Linked DNA regions of Homo sapiens: all the other regions are linked to region 4. Evidence: promoter capture Hi-C in 16 types of primary human blood cells and fetal thymus (Javierre and others, 2016). All regions are on one chromosome and are shown on one strand. Each heading gives the region's core, a stretch centred on a gene start or on the middle of the fragment in contact. The rest is flanking DNA. Distances are from core to core; before and after follow the strand shown. Region 1 holds the start of FBLN7 (fibulin 7). Region 2 overlaps ZC3H8 (zinc finger CCCH-type containing 8). Region 3 overlaps TMEM87B (transmembrane protein 87B). Region 4 holds the start of POLR1B (RNA polymerase I subunit B). Region 5 overlaps TMEM87B (transmembrane protein 87B). Region 6 has its middle 3.4 kb from the start of TMEM87B. Region 7 has its middle 17 kb from the start of FBLN7.

Evidence for each region. The method cuts DNA at HindIII sites, captures the fragments that hold promoters and counts their contacts. A CHiCAGO score of 5 or more calls a contact.
Region 1: a contact is called between the fragment with the promoter of FBLN7 here and the fragment with the promoter of POLR1B in region 4, in 2 of 17 cell types (non-activated CD4 T cells and fetal thymus). The highest score is 5.8, in non-activated CD4 T cells.
Region 2: a fragment that was not itself captured here is called in contact with the fragment with the promoter of POLR1B in region 4 in 2 of 17 cell types (fetal thymus and total B cells); the score reaches 5.4 in fetal thymus.
Region 3: a contact is called between a fragment that was not itself captured here and the fragment with the promoter of POLR1B in region 4, in 1 of 17 cell types (naive CD4 T cells). The highest score is 5.2, in naive CD4 T cells.
Region 5: a fragment that was not itself captured here is called in contact with the fragment with the promoter of POLR1B in region 4 in 3 of 17 cell types (M2 macrophages, megakaryocytes and naive CD8 T cells); the score reaches 5.4 in M2 macrophages.
Region 6: a contact is called between a fragment that was not itself captured here and the fragment with the promoter of POLR1B in region 4, in 9 of 17 cell types (fetal thymus, total B cells, activated CD4 T cells and 6 more). The highest score is 10.8, in fetal thymus.
Region 7: a fragment that was not itself captured here is called in contact with the fragment with the promoter of POLR1B in region 4 in 6 of 17 cell types (fetal thymus, total CD4 T cells, erythroblasts and 3 more); the score reaches 6.7 in fetal thymus.

What each region holds. Positions count from the first base shown.
Region 1 is chr2:112,137,049-112,140,685 of GRCh38, forward strand. It overlaps FBLN7 (fibulin 7), which reads left to right and starts at 1,337. Exons shown (of 8, transcript NM_153214.3): 1 at 1,337-1,682. The coding sequence starts at 1,608. RefSeq lists an enhancer at 3,154-3,637. The HindIII fragment of the contact is 8,502 bases long and covers 1,016-3,637 here.
Region 2 is chr2:112,245,829-112,249,423 of GRCh38, forward strand. All of the region lies in intron 2 of ZC3H8 (zinc finger CCCH-type containing 8), which reads right to left. Among named protein-coding and RNA genes, the nearest start is that of ZC3H8, 7.4 kb to the right of the region's middle. The HindIII fragment of the contact is 4,896 bases long and covers 1-3,595 here.
Region 3 is chr2:112,096,860-112,100,506 of GRCh38, forward strand. It overlaps TMEM87B (transmembrane protein 87B), which reads left to right. Exons shown (of 19, transcript NM_032824.3): 12 at 185-293; 13 at 374-432; 14 at 1,736-1,839. Among named protein-coding and RNA genes, the nearest start is that of FBLN7, 40 kb to the right of the region's middle. The HindIII fragment of the contact is 5,541 bases long and covers 1-3,647 here.
Region 4 is chr2:112,540,765-112,544,406 of GRCh38, forward strand. It overlaps POLR1B (RNA polymerase I subunit B), which reads left to right and starts at 1,701. Exons shown (of 15, transcript NM_019014.6): 1 at 1,701-1,907. The coding sequence starts at 1,731. It overlaps TTL (tubulin tyrosine ligase), which reads left to right. Exons shown (of 7, transcript NM_153712.5): 7 at 1-975. It overlaps LOC105373562 (a long non-coding RNA gene), which reads right to left and starts at 1,448. Exons shown (of 2, transcript NR_136321.1): 1 at 1,439-1,448; 2 at 892-1,314. RefSeq lists an enhancer at 1,584-1,733. The HindIII fragment of the contact is 8,470 bases long and covers 1-2,484 here.
Region 5 is chr2:112,077,601-112,081,038 of GRCh38, forward strand. All of the region lies in intron 6 of TMEM87B (transmembrane protein 87B), which reads left to right. Among named protein-coding and RNA genes, the nearest start is that of TMEM87B, 24 kb to the left of the region's middle. The HindIII fragment of the contact is 2,140 bases long and covers 980-3,119 here.
Region 6 is chr2:112,050,010-112,053,651 of GRCh38, forward strand. No RefSeq gene overlaps it. Among named protein-coding and RNA genes, the nearest start is that of TMEM87B, 3.4 kb to the right of the region's middle. The HindIII fragment of the contact is 755 bases long and covers 1,113-1,867 here.
Region 7 is chr2:112,119,831-112,123,218 of GRCh38, forward strand. No RefSeq gene overlaps it. Among named protein-coding and RNA genes, the nearest start is that of FBLN7, 17 kb to the right of the region's middle. The HindIII fragment of the contact is 9,145 bases long and covers 1-3,388 here.

The DNA of each region.
Region 1 (3,637 bases), core at 87-2,586, 400 kb before region 4:
GTCTCAAAGAAAAAAAAGATTTACATGGGTCCCGTTCCACCTCCTTTGCATGGGAAGGTTGGGGGAGCAGCACTGTAGGATTTCCTGGGCAACCAATGCCCAGGAGGCCAGCCTAAACCATGTCCCCTGCTTTTTGGGGCACTGGCTAGGTTCTGAATGTTGGTGTCTCCCCTAAATTTATATGTTGGAAACCTCATTCCCAAGATGATGGCATTAGGAGGTGGGACCTTTGGGAGGTGACTAGGTCATGAGTGCAGAGCCCTCAAAATTGGGATTAGTGCCCTCAGAAAAGAGGCCCCAGAGAGCTGCCTTTCCCCTGTGAGGACACGGGAACCAGAACTCTGGCCCTCGCCAAACACCTAATCTATTGACACCTTGATCTTGGACCTCCCAGTCTCCAGAACTGTGAGAAACACGTTCTATTGTTTATAAGCCACTCAGTTTATGGTATTTTGCTATAGCAGTTTGAAGGGACTAAGCCAGGACTCCAGCTTTCCTTTCTGGCCTCTGCTGGGAAACAGCTCCTGCTCTGTGGTCACAGTCTTGTGGGCTCCCCGTTCCCTGAGCTCTGAGTGGGCTCAACAAAGTGAAATGTGGAAGAGGAAAAAGAGATCTGGGGCTTGACCAGACTTGTGTGTCCCAGGACATCTGCAGTGACTGCCTTCAGAAAACCTTCCAGGAAGAACGTCAGTCATGCCTTCCGGGAGCTCAGGTCTGAGGCATCTGGTTGTACCACAGCCCTGATGGCAGGGGACTTCAGACTGCTCATGCCGGCCTGGCACTTCCTGATTCGACTTCAGCAAGGCAGGCAATGTTCTAGAACCTGACCTCCGATTTAAACTGAGTTTCTCCTTCCCTTGAGCAAGGAGGACAGTGAATCAGAAGGACGTAGATCCCCTCACTGTATCACTGTGTGTGTATCTACTCACTGTGCGTGCGTGTTCTCACGGCCCCATTGCATTATTTAAAGGGACACTAGTTTATTCGGATGGAGAGCTCAGTCCACCCCACGTCAAGCTTATGAAGCCCATTTCCTGGCCCCCTTCTAGGAATGTCGGGAGGAGGGTGTCGCGTGGGCTTTGAAGTAGGACAGACCTGGGTTTGGGTTTCTGTTCTGCCACTTGTCCTTGGTGACTGAGCCTCAGTCTACTTGGTTGGGAAATAGGACGGTCGGGAGTGAACCCGCCCAGGGTGGGCTTCCAGTCACCCGCACATATGCGGGGCACTGGCCGCCCATCCCTGCCAGGCCCCGAGGATGCCCGCGCTCGTCCTCGGCGTCGCGGGTTGGGCGCGCTCCCGGGCGCATTCCCGGCCGGGCAGCCCCTCCTCCCTCGTCCTTAGCCCAGGGGCCGGCGCCTCCCCGCCTCGCGCGGACTGTCTCGTGCGGGCAGCTGCGGGCGCACCTGGACCCTCGCAAGGCCCGGGCGGCGCCGATCCCCGCGGGACGCGCTGCGCTCGGGGCCTCCCGCCTCCCCCCCTGCCCCAGCCGCCCCCCGGCCGCGCGGCGCCCCGCACCCTGCAGGGACGGCTGCCGCATCGCTGGGACAAACTCGGCAGCGGAGGCAAAGTTATTTCCCCTCCCAGGCAGCGGGATTCCGACTGGCAAGATGGTGCCCAGCTCTCCGCGCGCGCTCTTCCTTCTGCTCCTGATCCTCGCCTGCCCCGAGCCGCGGGCTTCCCAGGTCAGTGTCCCTCCCGCCTCTCTCCAGGCCAGTGTCCCTCCCGCCTCTCTCCAGGCCAGTGTCCCTCCCGCCTCTCTCCAGGCCAGCGTCCCTCCCGCCTCTCTCCCCTGTCCCTCCCGCCTCTCTCCCCTGTCCCTCCCGCCTCTCTCCAGGTCAGTGTCCCTCCCGCCTCTGTCCCCTGTCCCGCGCGCCTCTCTCCACGCCAGTGTCCCTCCCGCCTCTCTCCAGGCCAGCGTCCCTCCCGCCTCTCTCCAGGCCAGCGTCCCTCCCGCCTCTCTCCAGGTCAGCGTCCCTCCCGCCTCTCTCCAGGCCAGCGTCCCTCCCGCCTCTCTCCAGGTCAGCGTCCCTCCCGCCTCTCTCCAGGCCAGTGTCCCTCCCGCCTCTCTCCAGGCCAGCCAGTGTCCCTCCCGCCTCTCTCCACGCCAGTGTCCCTCCCGCCTCTCTCCAGGCCAGTGTCCCTCCCGCCTCTCTCCAGGCCAGTGTCCTTCACGCCTCTCTCCAGGTCAGTGTCCCTCCCGCCTCTCTCCAGGCCAGCGTCCCTCCCGCCTCTCTCCAGGTCAGCGTCCCTCCCGCCTCTCTCCAGGCCAGCGTCCCTCCCGCCTCTCTCCACGCCAGTGTCCCTCCCGCCTCTCTCCAGGTCAGTGTCCCTCCCGCCTCTCTCCAGGCCAGTGTCCCTCCCGCCTCTCTCCAGGCCAGTGTCCCTCACGCCTCTCTCCAGGTCAGTGTCCCTCCCGCCTCTCTCCAGGCTAGTGTCCCTCCCGCCTCTCTCCAGGCCAGCGTCCCTCCCGCCTCTCTCCAGGTCAGCGTCCCTCCCGCCTCTCTCCAGGCCAGCGTCCCTCCCGCCTCTCTCCACGCCAGTGTCCCTCCCGCCTCTCTCCAGGCTAGTGTCCCTCCCGCCTCTCTCCAGGCCAGCGTCCCTCCCGCCTCTCTCCAGGTCAGCGTCCCTCCCGCCTCTCTCCAGGCCAGCGTCCCTCCCGCCTCTCTCCACGCCAGTGTCCCTCCCGCCTCTCTCCAGGTCAGTGTCCCTCCCGCCTCTCTCCACGCCAGTGTCCCTCCCGCCTCTCTCCAGGCCAGTGTCCCTCCCGCCTCTCTCCAGGCCAGTGTCCCTCCCGCCTCTCTCCACGCCAGTGTCCCTCCCGCCTCTCTCCAGGCCAGTGTCCCTCCCGCCTCTCTCCCCTGTCCCGCGCGCCTCTCTCCATGCCAGTGTCCCTCCCGCCTCTCTCCACGCCAGTGTCCCTCCCGCCTCTCTCCAGGCCAGCGTCCCTCCCGCCTCTCTCCAGGTCAGCGTCCCTCCCGCCTCTCTCCAGGCCAGCGTCCCTCCCGCCTCTCTCCACGCCAGCGTCCCTCCCGCCTCTCTCCACGCCAGCGTCCCTCCCGCCTCTCTCCACGCCAGTGTCCCTCCCGCCTCTCTCCACGCCAGTGTCCCTCCCGCCTCTCTCCAGGCCAGCGTCCCTCCCGCCTCTCTCCAGGCCAGTGTCCCTCCCGCCTCTCTCCCCTGTCCCGCGCGCCTCTCTCCACGCCAGTGTCCCTCCCGCCTCTCTCCAGGTCAGTGTCCCTCCCGCCTCTCTCCAGGTCAGTGTCCCTCCTGCCTCTCTCCAGGCCAGCATCCCTCCTTCCTCTCTCCCCTGTCCCGCGCGCAGGGGAGGCAGCACCAAGGCTGGGGGACCCGGGCTTGCCACTTTCCACTCGGATGCCTGGGTTGAGAGCTCGGAGCGATGCCTGGGCTGGGGTTCAGTTTTCAGAGAGAGGTGCAGGGTCCCCCACCTGTCACCTCAGATGCATCGCTGGCCGGGCCCCTGGGAGGACCCGGGCTGGGCTGCGAAAGCGTCGGTCCATTGTGGGCGAGGACTCCACGTGAGCACCGCCGGGAGGAAGAAGATTTCTCAGGGAGCTATGAGACATTGGTCTTTCCTGGGTCTCCATGAGAGCTCCAGGTCACCTAATTAGCTTAGAGA
Region 2 (3,595 bases), core at 362-2,861, 300 kb before region 4:
AAGTCAATACCTCACTTCAAAGAATACCCTGACTTCACCACTACAATCTATGCATGTAACAAAATTGCACTTGCACCCCGTAAATTTATACAAATAAAATACTTTAAAAGGCTTCAAAAAGATAGGCTAACTCTTGTTAGGAGCTAATGCAGCTGGTGACTTTAAGTTGAAACCAATGCTCATTTACCAGTCTGAAAATTCTAGGGCCCTTAAGAATTATGCTAAATATACTCTGCCTGTGCTCTATATATGGAGCAACAGAGCCCAGATGGCAGTATATCTGTTTACAGCATGGTTTACTGACTATTTTAAGCCCACTGTTGAGACCTACTGCTCAGAAAAAATATCCTTTTCAAAATACTACTGCTCATTGACAATGCACCCAGTCACCCAAGAGCTCTGATGGAGATGAATGTTTTCATGTCCACAAACACAACAACCATTCTGCAGCTTATGGATCACGGAATAATTGACTTTCAAGTCTTATTTAAGAAATAAATACAAAATACACTTTTTAAGGTTATAGTAGCCATAGAAAGTGATTTCTCTGATGGATCTGGGCAGAGTAAATTGAAAACCTAGAAAGGATTCACCATTTTAGCTGACATTAAGAACATTCGTGATTCATGGCAGAAGGTCAAATATCAACAATAACAGGAGTTTGAAAGAAGGTGATTGCAACCCTCAGGGATGACTTTGAGGAGTTCAAGACTTCAGTAGACGAAGTAATTGCAGGTGTGGTGGAAAAGCAAGAGAACTAGAATTAGAAGTGGAGAATGAAGACGTGACTGAATTGCTGCAACTTCATGATCAAACTTGAACAGATGAGGAGCTGCTTCTTACAAGTGAACAATGTGGTTTCTTGAGATGCAATCTATTTCTGGTGAAGATGCTATGAACATTGTTGAAATGACAACAGATTTAGAATATTATATAAACCTAGTTGATAAAGCAGTGGCAGGGGTTGAGAGGATTGACTCCAATTTTGAAATTTTTACTGTGGGTAAAATGCTATCAAACAGCATCACATACTACAGAGAAATATTTTGTAAAAGGAGAAGTCAATTGAGGTGACAAACTTTACTGCTGTCCTATTTTAAGAAATTGCCAGAGCCACCTCAGTGTTTAGCAGTCACCACCCTCAGCAGCTATCAACACTGAGGCAAGACCCTCTGCCATCAAAAAGATGACTCGCTGACTGTTAACATTTTTTAGCAACAAAGAATTTTTAATTAAGATATATACTGTTTTCTAAAATATAATGGTATTGGACACCTAACAGAGTACTGTATAGTATAAATGTAACTTTTATATGCACTGGGAAACCAAAACATTCTTGTGCCTAGCTTTACTGCAATATTTGTTTTATTGTGGTGGTATGAAATCAAACCCTCAAAATCTGAGGTAATGCTCTTTCTTAACTTGCAAAGTGTTTACCTGGGTATTCTCTTTTAAATAAGCTATAGCCAGCCATGGTGGCTCACACCTGTAATCCCAGCAGTTTGGGAGGCTGAGGCGGGCCAATCACTTGAGCTCAGGAGTTCGAGACCAGCCTGGCCAACATGGCAAAAACCCATCTCTACTAAAAATACAAAAATTAGCCAGGCAAGGTGGGTGACAGGCACCTGTATTCCCAACTACTCGGGAGGCTGAGGCAGGAGAATTGCTTGAACCTGGGAGGTGGAGGTTGCAGTGAGCCAAGATTTTGCCACTTTACTGCAGCCTGTGCAACAGAGTGAGACTCTGTCTCAAAAATAAATAAGTTAATTAATTAATTAGCTGTGATATTTATTTGATAATGTATTCACCTTTTACATACTTGTGAGTGAAGAGGCTGCACTGAAGCAAGCCTGGTTGAGAATAACCTAGGAGTCCATCTTCTCACAGTACTGTTTTGCAGAAACTATGTAAGACAGTTGTAGAATGTTGTTTCTGCCTGTCTGCTGTGGAAGGTTATAATATATAATACGAAGTCTGGAGGAGCTAAAAGTGGGCATAAAAGACTGAGGCCTATGTGACTCAAGCAGTATAAAAAACTTGTGGGAAGTTGAAGTTGCAATTTCTTGTCGTCAACCTTGGCTCTCATCTTTGGAAGCCACATAGGCCCCAAAGGGGAAAAGAAGTTGCTTACTTGGGTAGCTGAGAGGCTTCCAAGAAGATGAAGATACTGTACCTGCTTTATCATCTGTCCTGTATTCTTTTATAAAACTAAGGAGGCTGGGCATGGTGGCTCACACCTATAATCCTAGCACTTCGGGAGGCCGAGGCTGGCAGATCACTTGAGCTCTGGAGTTTGAGACCAGCCTGGGCAACATGATGAAACCCTGTCTCTGCTAAAAATACAACAATTAGCCAGGTGTGGTGGCGTGTGCCTGTAGTCCCAGCTACTCGGGAGGCTGAGGTGGGAAAACTGCTCGAACCCAGGAGAAGGAGGTTGCAGTGAGCCAAGATCATGCTACCACACTCCAGCCTGGGCAACAGAGACAGAAAGAAAAGAAAGAAAGAAAGAAAAGAAAGAAAAAGAAAAAGAAAAGGAAAAAAAGAAAGAAAGAAAAAGAAAAAGCAAGCAAGCAAGAAAGCTAAGTAAAAGATACACTATTAAAGTCTATTTCTGTCTTATAAGTCTCAGTGACAATTTAACCCATTCTTCTATAGTGTGTTAAAACTCATTTTTTTTTTGAGATGGAATTTTGCTCTTGTTGCCCAGGCTGGAGTGCAATGGCATGATATCGGCTCACCGCAACCTCTGCCTCCCGGGTTTAAGCGATTCTCCTGCCTCAGCTCCCTGAGTAGCTGGGATTACAGGTGCCTGCCACCATGCTTGGCTAATTTTGTATTTTTAGTAGAGATGGCGTTTCTCCATGTTCAAAAACAGAAAAGAAGGGCAAGATAGGAATATACATTACCTTTGTTATGGGTTGAACTGCACCCTCCCAAAATTCTTATAATGAACTACTAACCCCTAATACCTCAGAATGTGACCTTTTTTGGAAATAGGGTCATTGCAAGTGTAATTAATTAAGATTAGGTCATTAGGGTGGGCCCTAGTCCAGTGACTGATTTCCTTATAAAAAAGGAAAATTCAGCCGGGCACAGTCGCTCAGGCCTGTAATCCCAGCACTTTGGGAGGCCGAGGCGGTCAGATCGCTTGACCCCAGGAGTTCGAGACCAGCCTGGGCAACATGGCGAAACCCCATGTATATTTTTTCTCTACAAAAAACACAAAAATTAGCTGGGCGTGGTGGTGCACACCTGTAATCCCAGCTACTTGGGAGGCTGAGAATTGCTTGAGTCCAGAAGGAGGTTGCAGTGAGCAGAGATTGTGCCACTGCACTCCAACCTGGGTGACAGAGCAAGACTCTGTCTCAAAAAAAGGAAATTCAGACAATTCAGACACAGGCATACAGGGAGAACACCATGTGAATATGAAGGCAGAAATCAGGATGATACTTTTGCAAGCCATCACCAAAGATTGCCAGCATTCCATCAGGAGCTAGGGGAGATGAATGAATAGATTCTTCCCCACAGCCTCAGAAGGAACCAACCCTGCCAACACCTTGTGCTGGGACCTCCAGCCTCCAGAACCTTGAGACAA
Region 3 (3,647 bases), core at 492-2,991, 440 kb before region 4:
AATCTGTGATAAAGTATAATGATTGTACAATATTGGCCAAGATAACATTTTCTGTGTTTTCATTAGCTTCAAATTTTAGGAACTGTATTTAGCAGTACTGACTTTGGGAACATAGTAGAAGATTCTGTTTTTTTTTTTTAACCTCTTATTATTACTTGGAATGTTTTTCCTTAACTTTTTTCACATTTTTATTAGTTTGGCACAAACTATGAAGACCCTAAGGCTAAGAAAGAACACTGTGAAATTTTCATTATATAGACATTTTAAAAATACTCTGATCTTTGCTGTGCTGGGTAAGCTATTTAATTTTTCTTACAGTAAATTATCTTAGTATTGTTATATTCCTTCAAAGGTGACTTTTTGTGTGTTTCAGCTTCTATAGTGTTTATGGGGTGGACAACTAAGACATTTAGAATTGCAAAATGCCAATCAGTAAGTATAACCTTCCTATTTAAACAGTTATTTTTATTTATACTATTTTGTAGAATTTTGAACAATTTAGTTTATGCTTGCAAATAGAGGTGATTTTAATGGAGATTTATGTTTTTACTTTGAACTATTTTTTACAGAGTTATAAAAACTTTTGGCTGGGCGCGGTGGCTCACGCCTGTAATCTCAGCACTCTGGGAGGCCGAGGCAGGCGGATCACGAGGTCAGGAGATCGAGACCATCCTGGCTAACACAGTGAAACCCCGTCTCTACTAAAAATACAAAAAATTAGCGGGTGCCTGTAGTCCCAGCTACTGGGGAGGCTGAGGCAGGAGACTGGTGTGAACCCAGGAGGTGGAGCTTGCAGTGAGCTGAGATTGCACCACTGCACCCCAGCCTGGGCAACACAGCGAGACTCCATCTCAAAAAAAAAAAAAAAAAAAAAAAAACTTTTAACTCCTCCAAGTGAGTCTGAAAAAGTTCCTCCGAAATCTCCTTTTCCTATTATGCCCTTTTGTCAAGTTTTTTTTATATATTTTGAAAATAAATTCTCTTCCTGTATACCCTAACAGGAAATCCTTTTCTTCCTGCACACCATGAAATTGAGTGGTTTGTATCTAGATGGACTAGAAATCTTAAGACTGGCATGTTTCTAGGATCGTGTGTTCAGTATGGGCATTCGAGCGATGTTTTCTTTTTTTTTTTTGAGATGAGTCTCACTCCGTCAGCCAGTCTGGAGCGCAGTGGTGCGATCTCAGCTCACTGCAACCTCCGCCTCCCGGGTTGAAGCAATTATCTGCCTCAGCCTCCCGAGTCGAGTGATGTTTTCTATGGGTTCTCATGTTGGAAGAAGATATATTCTTAGACTTAGAATATGAAAGGTCCTCTTTTGGGGATTTGTTGAGATTTGGAGCTAGTCTCTAGTGCCATATAAATAATCACAAAAAGCCCTCTGAAAATCCAGAGCTTTTGCTGCCTTAGAGACAATTTAATAAAAGAAGAGGCTGGGCCTTCTGACCTTAGTATTTGCCATTTGAAATCCTAAGTATATGTTTTGCATCTTTTGATTTTGAAATCTTTCTGTTAACCCAAAAATTTTATGGCAGGGAATATTTGTAACATTAAACAACCCTTTAGAAACATTTTGAACAATATAGGTTTCTTGAAAAAATATGTGCTTGTTTATTTGGAAGACTTACTGGTTGGAAAGATTTCATTAGTACTTGTCATTGTACATTATTTGAATGGGAAACCTATATGCTTATCAGAAAATTAACGTTTCATGCTTGAATTGTCCTTCTTTTAGGATTGGATGGAACGCTGGGTTGACGATGCATTTTGGAGCTTCCTTTTTTCGCTTATCCTTATTGTAATCATGTTTTTGTGGAGACCATCAGCAAACAATCAGAGGTACCTAACATAGGAAATTTCAAGTCGTCAAGGATTTGTTGATCACCTTCTATAGTGTCAAGAACACGTTTATAGAAACCAGGAGAATAGTCGTTGCTTTTAAGGAGTATACAGTCAAGTAGGGAGATAAGCAAAACAAATGCAAGACAGTGAAAAAAGAGATGTATAGACTAGTCCAGGGGAAGATGGAAGAGGGTTGAGGAAGACTTCTTGAAGCGACAGCGCTTACATTACACCTTGAGGAAAGGAATAGGATAGCGAATGACTGAACTGGGAAAGAGTGTCCATTTTCTGGGGTGGTGGGAAAGGCATGAGATACTTTGGAGGCCAGTGAGACATGCAGTTTGGTTAATACCACATACTCATATTGGAGGGAGATCAAGCTGGAAGGGAGAAGTACGGCCAAAATGACAAAAGACTTGAGTGTCAAGTTCAGAAAGTTGTACTTGAGACTGCATGTGATAGGAAGCCTCAGCTTCCTTGCTTTATCCCTTTGCCCCAAGGAGAGAACTTAAGTTCTTGTCCATCCTTTAGGAAAAAATGAAAAAGTATGTACAGATTCAACATCCCAAATCCCAATCCAGAATGCTACAAAATCCAAAACTTTTTGAGCACGGACAGGATACTCAAAGGAAGTGCTCATTGGAACATTTTGAATTTCAGATTTTCAGATTTGGGATGCTCAACTGGTAGGGATAATGCAAATGTTCCAAAATCTGAAAACATCCAAAACTCAAAACACTTCTGGTCTCAGGCATTTTGCATAAAGGCTACTCAACCTGTATCAGTGTGTTTCTCCTGTCCTTTTTAAAATTATACAATAATACATATATATATATATATATATATATATATATACACACACACACGCATATACATACACATACTGTTCTGTACCTTCCTGTTTAAGGTCACGCCTATAATCCTAGCACTTTGGGAGGCCAAGGTGGGTGTATGACTTGAGCCCAGGAATTCGAGACCAGCCTGGGCAACAAGGCAAAACCCTCTTTCTACAAAAAAATACAAAAATTAGCCAGGTGCGGTGGTATGTGCCTGTACTCCCAGCTACTTGGGAGGCTGAGGTGGGAGGATGGCCTGAGCCCAGGAGGTGGAGGTTGCAGTGAACTGAGATCATGCCGCTGCTACTGCACTCCAGCTTGGGCAACAGAGCCAGACCCTGTCTCAAAAAAAAAAAAAAAAAACCACAAAAAAAACAACTATCTTTCCATATCAGCATGTATAGATCTACCACATTACTTTTAATGGTTTTATGGCATTTTATAACATGAATGTAATATAATTTATATAAGCAGTCCCTGGTTATTAGACATTTTGTTTAAAAAATAGATTTTTGCTATTATCAATAATGTTTTCAGAATGCTGTTGGACATCATCTTGGCAAACTTTTGTTAGTGTAATGTAAGGTAAATGAATTTTTACTTTAATGGCTATTGCCAAATGACCCTCCAGAAAGGTTGTCTTGATTCACACTCCATCAGCAGTATTTTGAGCTTATCACCCTAGGAAATGTGGCCCATTCAGTGGGCTTTATTTTCACCAATCAGATTAGCAACTTTTCTTTTTTTAGGAAATAAACTGACAAGTGGTGGGCAGAGAGGTAAACCTGACATGGAGAAAGAAACAGCAGAAAGTTCCCTTCCCTCAACATTAAATATTGCAAAATTGCTTTGCAGAAAGATTTTACCCACTTATGCTTTTACAAACAGGGTTTGAGAGCTCCAGTTTCACAATTTCTTAATGATAATTTTAGCTAATTTGAAAGTAAAATAATTACGTTTTCATTATTT
Region 4 (3,642 bases), core at 451-2,950:
ACAACTGGATATCCACATGCAAAGGAATAAAGTGATATGCCTTTCTCACACCATATACAAAAATTAGCTCAGAATGAGTCAAAGACTTAAATGTAAGAGTTGAAACTACAAAACTCTTAGTAGAAAATATAGGTGAAAATCCCCATGATTGAAAAATATCTAGTATTTGATAGCACAACAGGGTGACTGCAGTCAGCAATAATTTGTTGTACCTTCAAAAATAACTGAGGAAGTACAATTGGAATGTTCATGACAGAAATGATGAATGCTTGAGGTGATGGAAACCCCATCTACCCTCCTGTGATGATTACATCGTATGCCTATATGAAAACATCTCATATACCTCATAAATATGCTAATTATGTACCCATAAATTTTTTTTTAAATCCTCATGACCTTGGATTACACAATGATGTCTTAGATATGATATAAAAAGACAGGCAACAAAAGAAAAAAACTACACTTCAAAATTAAAACGTTTTGCTTCAAAGGACACCAGCAAGAAAGTAAAAACCCACAGAATGGGAGAAAAATATTTGCAAATCATGGATCTGACAAGGACTAGTATAGGCTATATAAAGAACTACAACTACTCAGTTGGCCGGGCGCGCGCGGTGGCTCATGCCTGTAATCCCAGCATTTAGGGAGGCAAGGCGAGAGGATCACTAGAGGCCGGAAGTTCAAGACCAGCCTGTGCAACAGACTCCCGGCTCGAATTTTTTATAAAAAGTGATATAGGAATGAAAAGTACCAGCTGAACTAGGAAAGGGGAAGTTGACAGTAAGGAGGGACTATCAGGGGCAGGAGGATACTGGGTAGTGGTGGTTTAATTCATTGTTTTAATTGTGGTGATGGCTGCATGGTTGTATACATAGGTCAAAACTTAACGCGTACACTTTAAATGTGTGGTTTATTGTATGCCAGTTATAACGCAATATAGCTGTTAAACACAAACACAATAAAGTTGAAAAACCAGCAGGCATTCCCTGATTAATCAGTATTCTGGGGAGGTAAGGGGCTCACAGGAACGCAAAAGAAATTCAGGCTGTAAATCCAGTTGGACGCCCCGCTGCCCCATCCCCTCCATCCGGGACCGCCCGACTCCTCTCCCACCTCCTTCCCCAGGCCTCCCCCAGGCCTCCAGTCCGGAAGATGCGACGAGGTTAGCGGGGCCCGACCACTCCTTGGCTTCCCAGGGGTGAGCCTCGCGAGTTAGGAGTTGGGTAGAGAGTCAGCCCGGGGCCCGGCATCCGCTTTTTCGTTGAAGCAACGACTTTGGCCGGATGACTCCCCAGGGTCGGCATCAGCGTGGGACTGGGAACAGGTGAAGGGAAACAGAAGAGAGCCTGAGAAGACCGCTCTCCTCCGATCCTAATTGACTGAGCCAATGAGAGCCAAAGAGGTCACATGCTCAACTGGGCGGGGAGCGGGTTTCCACCTGCGGCATCTTTCGCGAGCGGGGAGATGAGTGGGGCGGAATATGGGAGAAAGGGAGGGCCCGCCACGCTCTGGCTGGACACGGCCTTAATCGGCCCGTTCACTCGACGTTTTTGGTTCTACGTTGACCCCGAGAAACCGAAACCGCAGGGCCTAGGGCGGGTGGAACGAGAGGGAACTACATTTCCCAGCAGGCTGCGGAAACGGGACTGCGGCCACTACTTCCGGCGTGTACCGAGAGACTGGCGTCCGGCGTGTACCGAGAGACTGGCGTCCGGTGTGCAGGTGGCCACATGGATCCTGGCAGCCGGTGGCGGAACCTGCCCAGCGGGCCTAGCCTAAAGCACTTGACTGACCCCTCTTATGGAATCCCGCGGGAACAGCAAAAGGCAGCGTTGCAGGAGCTGACGCGGGCGCACGTGGAGTCCTTCAACTACGCTGTGCACGAGGGTCTCGGCCTCGCGGTGCAGGTGAGCGCGGCGTCCGCCGGCGCCCTTGCCGCGGCGAGGCCAATCCCAGGGAGGTGGCTGGGAGGTCACAGTATGACCCCAGATGCATGTGCTCCTTGATCCTGACAGGCTTGGTGGGTAAGCGGGAGAGCACAACATGTTAAACAGGACGCGGTACTGGCCTTCGTGAGACTTGGAGTCGAGGCGTCTTAAGAGATGTATTCGTGATTCTGGAGTGAAAAGTGATTGTGAACCGTAGTTTGGACAGTTTCGGGGTGCTGTGAGAGTGAGGAAGTGGCTTATCTGGGGATGTGCTTCACAATGCACACGGCTTTATATCACTTGAAGACTTACCTCTCCAAAACGTACCTCGAAAGATCCCGAACGTATTTGTAGGTACAGTGTAATGTTCAAGGTTATCCTTCAGTTTCCTTCTCTTAGAGCTTTAAAGAGAGAAACTACTCGTCATTTGTTATGAATTAAGCAGGTGCCGAGGAAGGTATAAATGAGTCATGAAAGCAAGATTGAATCGAAAAGTGTAATTGCATTATTAGCGTAGAGTAATGGTAGCAGAATTCAAGTGAGTATGGTGGGGGAAAGCTTCGTTTAGTAAGCATCCCCAGTGTCTCCAGGCACTAGGCTCAGAGGATGTGGAGGAGGCAGTCCCGTGTACGAGACAGTTCATGCATTTAAGTGCTCCCTGTCGTGTTTGGGGGTTGAAGGGGTGAAGATAATGAAAGCAGTGCATGCCAATGTTCTTGAGAACTGCTCTGCCAAGGGATTGTGTGGGCTACTGCGGGAGCCTATGGGCGGCGCAACTAATCCAGGAGTTTGAGAAAGGGCAGGATTAGATGAGTTCAAGAAGTGAGAAACGTGCATTTCGTCCAGGGGAAGAGTAGAGCAGAGTCACATGCTTCGGGGACCCTACCTGTGGTTTTGTTGGGTAAGATTTGTGTTGTGGGAGATAGGGATACAGATAATGTGGAGAGCTTTGATTGCCAGTCTGATTCTTGAACTCTATTCGGCAAATAATATGGGAGCCATTAAGATTTATTGTTTAGAAAGACTAGAGGGGTGGGGGTTATTTGTATTGTGCCTGGATTGTTACAGTATCATGTCTGTGAGAAAAAATTCCTAATTAAAAGTTAATCGGGCTGGGTGCAGTGGCTCACACCTGTAATCCAGGACTTTGGGAGGCCAAGGCAGAAGGATGACTTGAGCCCAGGATTTCAAGACCAGCTTGGATAACATAGTGAAACCCCATCTCCACAAAAATTTAAAAATTAGTGGGGCATGGTGGTGCGCACCCAAGTAGCTGGTCCCAGCTACTCGGGAGGCTGAGGTGGGAGGATAAGTTGAACCCAGGAATTTGAGGCTGCAATGAGCTATGATTGTGCCGCTGCACTCCATCCTCGGTAACAGAGTGAGACCTGTCTTTAAAAAAAAAAAATCCAATTGAGAAATTTTAGAAAAGCACTAATTTAAAAATAAGCCAGTCGGCTGGGTGTGGTGGCTCTTGACTGTAATCCCTGCACTTTGGGAGGTCAAGGCGGGTGGATCACTTGAGGTCAGGAGTTCCAGACCAGCCTGGCCAACCTGGTGAAACCCCATCTCTACTAAAAAATACAAAAATTAGCCGGGCATGGTGGCACATGTCTGTAATCCCAGCTACTCAGGAGGCTGAGGCACGAGAATCGCTTGAACCTGGGAGGCGGAGGTTGCAGTGAGCCAAGATTGCACCACTGCATTCCAGCCT
Region 5 (3,438 bases), core at 800-3,299, 460 kb before region 4:
TTGTGTATTTCAAGTAGGTTATGTTCTCTGTTTCTTGAAAATGGCCATCATCAGGGATTTAAGATTTTTATTATTTGACAAATTTTATTTTAAAGGATCTGTCTGTAGCCTAGGAGTAGAAGCAGCATATCTGCCAGCATGTGCTTCTGTGGTCTGTGAGGCACCCCCACCACTGTAAGTTAGACCCTCTGTGCCTTGTTAAGCTGTGGTTCCTTAGTGCCACAAAAGTAGACTTGCAATAAGCAGTTTTCAAGAGAATGAATGCTTTCCCATATTCTAGAATCACTTTGGCTGATGTTTTCCATAGTGGGTGTGTCTGCTGGGGCCAGCAGTAGCCAATCAGCATGTGAGGGCCCTGGGGATTTGATACTGCTCTGATTCAGCCAGTCAGCTGGCAGAAACCAATGAGGTGAGGTAGGCATTGCTGCAGAGGAGGCTCGGTCTGTTGTACTGCATGGCCCTTGGAGGGAAGCTGGCAAGGTGGCTGCTCTGGAAGAGTGTGAGGTAAGGCTTCCTTCTGGAGATGGCATCATGAGCCAGACTGTGCCAAGTAGAGGGAGCAGGGACCCTGATGCCATTCTGTCACCTATCTTAGTCTGTTTGTGCTGCTATAATAGAATACTTGACACTGGGTAATTTATAAAGAACAGAAATTTATTTCCCCACAGTTCTTGAGGCTGCGATGTCTAAGATCAAGGTGCCACCAAGTTTGGTGTCTGGTTAGGTCCCTGGTGTCTGCTTCCAAGATGGCACCTTAAACGATGTGTTCTCACATGGCAGAAAGGATAGAAGGGCAGGAAGCACAAAAGGGGACAACCACTCTGCTCTCACGGGGTGGAGGCAGAAGAGCAAAGAAGGGCCTAAGCTAGTTCCCTCCAGGCCTTTTGTAAGGCATTAATCTATTCATGAGGACAGAGCCCTCATGACTTAATCACTTCCCAAAAGGCCTCACCTCTTAATACCACCACAGTGGGTATGAAGCTTTAATGAATTTTTGAGGACATTCAGACCATAGAACTAGGCTTGTGCCCACTTCTTTCCCAGGCATTGTGTCTTTTCCCCTGACACCAGCGGGCAGTTTTGAGCCCCTGCTAATTAGTAGCTGGAGCTGTCACTGAGCCCTGCATGTTTTGCACTGTACTCGGCACATGGTTTATTATTGCTATCTCAGACAAAACCCAACCTAGATGTGTGAGTTTGGTAATTTATTCCAAGTTACGTCAAGGAAGATAAGGTCCCGGTGAGATGAGTAAATTAGCAAGGGGGCCAGTCTGAGGTCTTGTTTGGTAGCTGGGACTACTGTGCTCTTGTATATGATCAGATTTGGCACAGGTTTTTAGAATAGCGTGTATACAAGTAGAGGGATCTCTTTTTTTCTTTTTATTGTAAATTGACAATTACATATGACATAAATGTATGGGGTACAAAGTAATGTTATAATCTATAAATACAGTGTGGAATAATTAAGTCAAACTAGTTAACATACTCATCACCCCAAATGCTTAACATTTTTTGTGGTGAGAACATTTGAAATGTACTCTCTCAGCAATTTTGAAACATACAGTACTCTGTTAACTATTCACCATGCTGTGCAATAGAACTCAAAAAAAGAAAAAACTTACTCCTCCTGTGTGAGATTTTTTTTTACCCTTGGACCATCATCTGCCCATGCCTCCTACCTCCCAGCCTCTGTACCCACCATTCTGCTCTCGTATTAGGAGTTCAATTGTTTTAGATTCCACATATAAGTGAAAATGTGCAGTATTTGTCTTTCTGTGCTTGACTCATTTCACTCAGCACAGTGTTTTCCAGTTCCATCCATGTTGTTGCAAATGACAGAATTTTCTTCTTTTTAAAGGCTGAATAGTATTTCATTGTGTATATATACACATTTTCTTCATCCATTCATCTGTTGATGGACACTTACCTTGATTCCATAACTTAGCTATTGTTCATACTGCTGCAGTGAACATGGGGGTGCAGACAGCTCTTTGACAAACTGATTTTAGATCTTTTGGGTAAATAGTAAAGTGGGATTACTGGATTATATGGTAATTCTGTTTTTAGTTTTTTGAGGACCTTCCATACTGTTTTTTATAATGGCTGTACTAATTGACATTTTCACAAAGCATCCCTTTTCTCCACATCTTCATCAGCACTTACTCTCTTTCATCTTTTTGATAAAAGCCATTCTGACAGGTGTGAAATGATATTGGGGTTTTAATTTGCATTTCTCTAATGACTAGTGATGTTGAGCATTTTTCATGTATTAATATCTTTTGCTCATTTATATGTTTTCTTTTGAGAAACATCTAGGTCCCTTGCCTTTTTTTTTTTTTTTTTTTTTGAGACAGGAGTTCGCTCTGTCACCCAGGCTGGAGTGCGGTGGCACGATCTCGGCTCACTGCAACCTCCACCTCCTGGGTTCAAGTGATTCTCCTGCCTCTGCTTCCCAAGTAGCTGGGATTATAGGTGCACGCCACCCCACCTGGCTAATTTTTCTGTTTTTATTAGAGACGGGTTTCACCATGTTGGTCAGGCTGGTCTCGATCCCCTGACCTTAAGTGATCTGCCCACCTTGGCCTCCCAAAGTGCTGGGATTACAGGTGTGAGCTGTAACGCCCAGCCCCTTGCCCATTCTTTTTTTTTTAATTTTTTTTATCTTTTTTTATTTTTTGAGACGGAGTCTTGCTCTGTCGCCCAGGCTGGAGTGCAGTGGCGTGATCTCGGCTCACTGCAAGCTCCACCTCCTGGGTTCACGCCATTCTCCTGCCTCGGCCTCCCGAGTAGCTGGGACTACAGGTGCTCGCCACCACGCCCGGCTAATTTTTTGTATTTTTAGTAGAGACGGTGTTTCACCGTGTTAGCCAGGATGGTCTCGATCTCCTGACCTCGTAATCCGCCCGCCTTGGCCTCCCAAAGTGCTGGGATTACAGGGGTGAGCCACCACGCCCGGCCTGCCCATTCTTTTAATTGGGTTTTTTGTTTTCTTGCTATTGAGTTGTTTGAGCTTATGTATTTTGGATATTAACTCCTTCTTGGATATATGGCTTGCTAATTTTATCTCCCAGTACCTAAGTTGTCTATGTCTACTGTTAATTGTTTCCTTTGTGCAAAGAAGCTTTTTATATTGATGTAATCCCATTTGTCTATTTTTGCTTTTGTTGCCCGTGCTTTTGGGATCAAATCCAAAAAATCATTGCTCAGACCAGTGTTATGTAGTGTTCTCCCTATGTTTTCTTCTAGCAGTTTTACAGTTTCTGGTCTTACAGTAAAGGTATCTTGGTAAGGTTACATAATCAAACAAATACTAATTGTCCAATACCATGTATGTGCTACATACAAATTCAGCATTTGTTAGTGTGGTTTGTATTCTTGGAGCCTTCTGGGAAATGAACTTACATTTAAAGATTTAAGACTGACTGTTAATTAACTCTC
Region 6 (3,642 bases), core at 240-2,739, 490 kb before region 4:
TTGGTGGTAGTGGTCCCCTGGGCCCAGCTGCCTTTTCTTTTATCTCTTTGTCTTGTGTCTTTATTTCTACACTCTCTCATCTCCACACACGGGGAGAGACCCACTGACCCTGTGGGGCTGGTCCCTACAATTTATGTGATATATAAGTTGCACATGAAGAGGAAATATCAGAAAAACAACCTTTATGTTTACATATCCATAAGCCTCAACTCAAAACTAAAATCAGTTTTGATTTAGGGAAGAAAAAGTTAAATGAAGGCAAATGGAAGTATGTGGAAAAGGTGCTTTATATGATACTCTCAAAATTTCTCATACAATCCAATATTTTAATTAAAAGCAATGAATCAAATGTACAGCTTTTTATGCAAAAATAGCATCTATTCATTTTTGGTGTTAGCCATACCCCAAAGTCTCTCATTAATAGCACTGAATTCAGGATCTCATGATACTTCGTGTTCTCAAATGCCTTTTCATTTCCCTGCACAGCAACCTCTGAACTGTGATTCAGTTTTATAACAGCTGCAATAAACTCCACTAGAGGAAGGACTGGTCTATTGATGGGGGCCTTTCAGTTCTAGCTTACAGTCAACTATTGCCAAATTTTTCCTTATTTGTTCTTTGGACAATTTTTGTTTGCTCCAGGATTTAATTTTTCAAATTAAAAATTATATGGTAGCTGTTTTGTTTGTTTGTTTGTTTGTTTTTCTAAATCCCATAAGACTCAAAAGAGAATGAGTAAAGCACTCTGGCAATCAGTTGACTATCAATCTATTTTTACCAAGTAATCATAAATTTTCCATCTGCTGTGGAGGACACCAAGTTGGATCCCTATATGGGATGTGAGAGGTGTGAGATACTCCCTTCCTTCTTCCTTCCTCCTCCTCCTTCTTAGAAAGGCATATAAATTTTATTAACATATATACAGGGAGAACCACAGAGTGATTACCCCCTTCTTTCTTAGTTTTGGAAATTTTTCTTTTGAAATGATTTCAGACTCAAAGAAAAGTTGCAAGAAGAATACAAAGAACTCCTGCATACTCTTCATTCAAATTGGTTTTATTAGATTATCTTGATAGATAGATAGAGATGGTATACATGTTATACATATATAAAGCTTATATATATAATATATAAAAAGTTTTTTGTAACCACCAAAGAATAAGTTCAGATGTGGTGCCCGCTTACCTTTAAATACTTCAGTGTGCTTTTCTCTAGAAAGAGGACCTTCTCTTAGTGTGATAACGGTGCCATTTTCACATTCAGGAAATTCACATTGACAATACCATTTTCTTAAAGTCCTTGTTCAAATTTCACCAATTGTCTAAAGAATTTTAATAGCAAAAACAATTTTTCTGGTGTAGGCTCCAGACTGCTAGGCCTATATGTCACATTTAGTTATCATGTCTCTTGGGTCTCCTTTAACCTCTAACTTCCTCAGCTGTTTCAAGAACCTGGCATATATATATATATATATATATATATATATATATATATATATATTTTTTTTTTTTTTTTTTTTTTGGTAAATTATACCAGCTAGTTACTTTGTAGAATGTCTTTCAATTTGGGTTGTCTGATGTTTCCTTGTGATTAGATTTAAGTATGTGAATTTTTTCCTCATTTCCTTGAATAGCTTGATTAGATGCATTTTTGCATTTTGGGCATGCATTTTTGGCAGGAATATCACAGAAGTCATGCTGTTTCTTTTCAGTTAATCAAATCATGATACATATCATGTCTGTTTGTCCCAATCCTTGTGGGATTAACCTTGATCATTAAGTTGGTGTCTGCCAGGTATCTCCACTGTATAATTACTGTTTTTCTCTTTGTAATTAATAAGTAATTTTTGGAAGATATTTCCTCATGAAGCTTTTGCCAACTAACTTTAGAATAGAATTGATGATTCTTTCTGAATCAATTTTAATTGTGATAGTTGCCAAATGGTGATATTTTAAATTTGTTATTCCTTCTGCATTTATTAGTTTTCCAACTGTAAGAAAGTGATTTTCTTTCCTATTTATGTAATCATTTATTTATTTATGTTAGTATAGACTCATGGATTCCTATTTGAGTCAATGAGTTACAATCCACTACTATCATTTTGGTGACCAAATTGTCCCAGATCTGGTAAGTGGAAGGGAGCTCCTTCAAACTGGCTCCTATGCCTTTTTGACGTGTCCTCATAATTTTTTACCCACTTCCTTACTTTCTGGCAAAACAAGATTCTCAAGTTCATCATGAATTTCTCTATTCCATTCCTGGGCTCAGCCACTTCTCCAAGGATCCCTGGTTTATTTTAGTGGAGAATGATATTTATAAAGCAAGATCTGGTGCTAGATGTACCTATTGCTACTGGGGTGTCGCTGCTTCTAGGTCCTCCTGGGAATCAGTGCAAGAAAATATAAACACACACACACACACACATATCTACATCTATTTATAAAACTAAATTTTAAAAATGAGTTCACACTGATATCATCAGTTGCAAGCCAGCATTATAGTTCATTCTAACCTTCCTCATTTTCCTTTTTTTTTTTTCCTTTTCTTGCTTTCTTTCTCTTTCTTTCTTTTTTTTGTTTGTGACAGGTTCTGACTCTGTCACACAGGCTGGAGTGCAGGGCTCACTGCAACTTTCGCCTCCCAGGCCCAAGTGATCCTCCCGCCTCAGCTTCTTTGAGTAGCCAGAACCACAGGCACGCCACCACACCTGGCTAATTTTTGTATTTCGTGTAGAGACAGGATTTCGCCATGTTGTCCAGGCTGGTCTCAAACTCCTGAGCTCAAACTATCCACCCGCCTTGACCTCCCAAAGTGCTGGGATTACAGGCGTGCCCAGCCACTGTAAACATCTTACGACCATGGGTGGTGACTGGCAAGAAATGTACCTTGCTAGTTTTAAGATGGAGTTATTTTTAAAATGGTGTCACCCTGGCTCTCCTATGCTCCTGTTTCCCAATTTGACAACCAACACGATCTTTCTGATCAGCTCATCCTTACTTAAAAACCATCATTGGGGCCGGGCGCGGTGGCTCACGCCTGTAATCCCAGCACTTTGGGAGGCCGAGGCAGGCGGATCATGAGGTCAAGAGATCGAGACCATCCTGGCTAACACGGTGAAACCCAGTCTCTACTAAAAAATATAAAAAAATTAGCCTGGCGTGGTGGCTGGCGCCTGTAATCCCAGCTACTCAGGAGGCTGAGGCAGGAGAATGGCGTGAACCAGGAAAGCGGAGCTTGCAGTGAGCCGAGTTCGCGCCAGTGCACTCCAGCCTGGGCGACAGAGCGCGACTCAGTCTCAAAAACAAAACAAAACAAAAAATCATTGCCTCTCCAGTGTTCTTAACTAAAGGTGCCATCTGCCTAACTTAATTTAGGAATGCCTGTATGTTTTGGTACTGTTTAAATATTCCCAGCTTTGCCACTCTCCGTCTCACACCAACATCCAGTCATCTGGAAGATCTTTCCATTCCTCCAGTTCTCTCGTAACTAAAACGATTTCAGACTTACCCCTCACTCCCACAGGTAACTCGCCCTTAACTCTTCTTGTAGAACTTAAATTTCATGTATTGTTCTCTCCTTCTGTCCCTCACTTACTTCCTAAATCTCTGGTGGATGTTCCCCTGTGGTCCTGTTACAGTTATT
Region 7 (3,388 bases), core at 578-3,077, 420 kb before region 4:
TTATGAAGAATTTATAATAAAAATACTTATAAGAACTGTGATGCAGTGGCACATATGTGAATGCTTATCTATGTAAAAATAAGGTAGAGCAACTTACTCTCATGGTTCAGAAAAAATGCATTCTATCTTCCAACTTTTCTGTAAAGTTACAGAATTAAGTAATTACATAATTCTTAATTACATAAATAATTACATAATTAATTATTATTTTGAAATAAAGATAATTTAAAAAAAAAAAGGCCGGGCGTAGTGGCTCACGCCTGTAATCCCAGCACTTTGGGAGGCCAAGGTGGGTGGATCACAAGGTCAGGAGATCGAGACCATCCTGGCCAACATGGTGAAACCCTGTCTCTACTAAAAAAAAAATACAAAAAATTAGCCGGGCGTGGTGGCGGGCGCCTGTAGTCCCAGCTACTCGGGAGGCTGAGGCAGGAGAATGGCGTGAACCCGGGAGGCAGAGCTTGCAGTGAGCTGAGATTGGGCCACTGCACTCCAGCCTGGGCGACAGAGCGAGACTCCGTCTCAAAAAAAAAAAAAAAAAAAAAGTAGAGAAAGGATTGAGTGGAAAAGCACTGGGGTGGCATACATGGTTAGTGTTGAGGCTCAGCCAGGCTGTGGTCACAACTTGATTTTAGCCTTTCAGAAACTTAAGACAAAAAGTTTATTTCTTGCTCATGTGACAATTCTTCAGTAGGTATAGAGGTGGGAAGGGCCACCCTCCTCCACATGTCCCTCAGACACCCGGGGTTTATTTCCATCTTGCGGACCCACCATACCCTAGGGCCTAATTTTTACCCCTAATTTTCTAAGAAACATATTCAACATAAATATGTAAAAATAATAGTGCCTTGGCCAGGCGCAGTGGCTCACACCTGTAATCCCAGCACTTTGGGAGGCCGAGATGGGTGGGTCACGAGGTCAGGAGATCGATACCATTCTGGCTAACACAGTGAAACCGCATCTCTACTAAAGATAGAAAAAAATTAGCTGGGCATGGTGGCAGGCACCTGTAGTCCCAGCTACTCGGGAGGCTAAGGCAGGAGAATGGCGTGAATCTGGGAGGCGGAGCTTGCAGTGAGCCGAGATTGTGCCACTGCACTCCAGCCTGGGCGACAGAGCGAGACTCTCAATAATAATAATAATAATAATAATAATAATAATAATAATAGTGCCTTAGACTATGTATCAGAAAATCTAGAAAAGTGTGTCTTGGTTCACAGCTTAATCTTAATTAATTTAAAAAATCCATCTTGCTGTAAGTAGATGGGACATGGAGAATTTTCTTCATGGACATTCTCCCACCTTTGACATGTGAGGAGTGAGAGGGACAAGATGGATAGTCCCAGAGGGAAAGGAAGGGCTGTTGTCATAAGACTGATGACCATTTTGGCAGACTTGGGAGCACTTGCAGAGTGCCAGGCTTTGGTAACCACTGTATTCTCACAGTAGCCAATGAAGTATTAGTTCCCTTGGTTCATAGATTAGAAAACTGAGAGAGAGGTTAAATAATTTGATAGTTTACCATCCTGGCAGGTGGCAAGGCTGGTATAATACTGGTGGGAATCATCCTAGAAGGGTTGTCCTCGAAGTCCTGAGGAGAGAGGAGTTTCGGTTAACAAAGTGCTGTTTGCTTGTTAGAGAAGGTTAAGTAAGACAATGTATCTAAAGTGCCTGGTGCATAGCCTTCAGGAGGCAGCTAAGGTTAATGTGAAAGGTACAGCAATGATTGAGGGGTGACTGAGACTCAATTGAAACAAATGGCATATGAAATTCAAACACATTCCAGGATTGATTCACTTGTATTAAGATGAAGTTACCCAGAGCAAGTTTTATGCCCCTTAAGTGATAGGGAATGTACAGCTACATTAACAGAGGTGACCTGATATTTACATCTGGTCAGAGGCTGACCTGATTTATATCTGATTTCAGATGTAAATAATTTTGACAGTATTTCCTTAAAATCATTTTGAAAAAACAAGAAGCTGCAATGGAAGTTTATGCACAGGAAAAAATGTGAAAGCTATCCAGCAGGTGGTGCCAAAGTAATGTCTCTTGAAGAGTTCTAATCTTTTTTTCTTTTCTCTAATTCTTCCCTTTACAGATTTTATAAATTTACTTACCAAATGCCACTAAACAAATTTGGGGATGAAGAAAAAAACTTAAAAATAATTCACACAGCACTGCCCTGGAAAAACAGTTATTTTGGTATATTTTAAAACTTTAAAGCTGGAAAGAGCCTCTAAGATCATCTTACAAATGAGGAAATGGAGGACCAGGAAAGTGTCACTGGCTACAGTTCCCTCAGACCAGGGTTGAAGACTGCCTCCTAGTTTGTTTTTCTCACCTCTGGTCCTTATTGTCAGGGGGAAAGAGATGCCACAGAAGGGTTGGACTGGGCATCAAAACTTGAAATACATTTTATATACTTTGGTGACCACTTGCTACGTCATTTCATATGACTTCATTGTCTTTTCAGCTTCCAAATTCTTGTTTCTACATGGTCATAATTCCAGTTCTCTGTTTCTTCATTTGATAAGTGGAGATTTTCTTGGGGTTCAGTGGAGTCTGCTGGAAAGGCTTGTCTTTATTTGACCTGAGTCACAGCTTTCCCAGTGCTAAATGCCTCTTTCCAGGGGATACTTATTAAAAATATTCACAGGCATGTTTTTTAATGTCACAGCTGCCTAAAGCAAAAAATAACATTCAAAGCAAACAACAGACTGACCAAAAACCTTAAAAGGAAAGTCTAAAGAATGAGATGACCATAAGGCCTTTGAAAAACCTTCAACATACTTACAGGAATCTAAAAGGTCACATGCATGCATAGGGCTCTGCATGCTCAGCAAAGACCACAAACAAGAAGTGAAGGCTAAGGCAGAGTTAGTTGTAAACTGCCTGAATGAGTGCTGAAGGTGTGCCCCACCATACACACAAGCACCTCGGCAAAGACTGGGAGATTTACTGGTTCCGAGAGGTTAAGAAAGTCTCTGTCCAATAATTGTCTAACCATTACATAACTGAGTAGAGACTTCAGTGACCACATATCACAAAATATACAGACTTTACGGAATTAGTTTAGAGAACTCACTAAACAACTACTACAACAAGTAGTAACAACAGCAAACCATTGAAGGGGAAGGAACTGGTTTTCAGAGTTACCACATTATATTATTTAAAATGTCTAGTATTTACCAAAAAATTATGACATAAGCAAAGAAATGACAGTGTATCTCTCACAAGAAAAAAAAGAGCATCAAAACAAAATGTTCCTGAGAAAGACCAGATGTTTGACTTACTAGACAAAAACTGTAAGCTGTTTTGTAAGTATTCAATGAGCTAAAAAAGTATAAATGCAAAAGTATGAGAATGATGTTTGACCAAATAATGT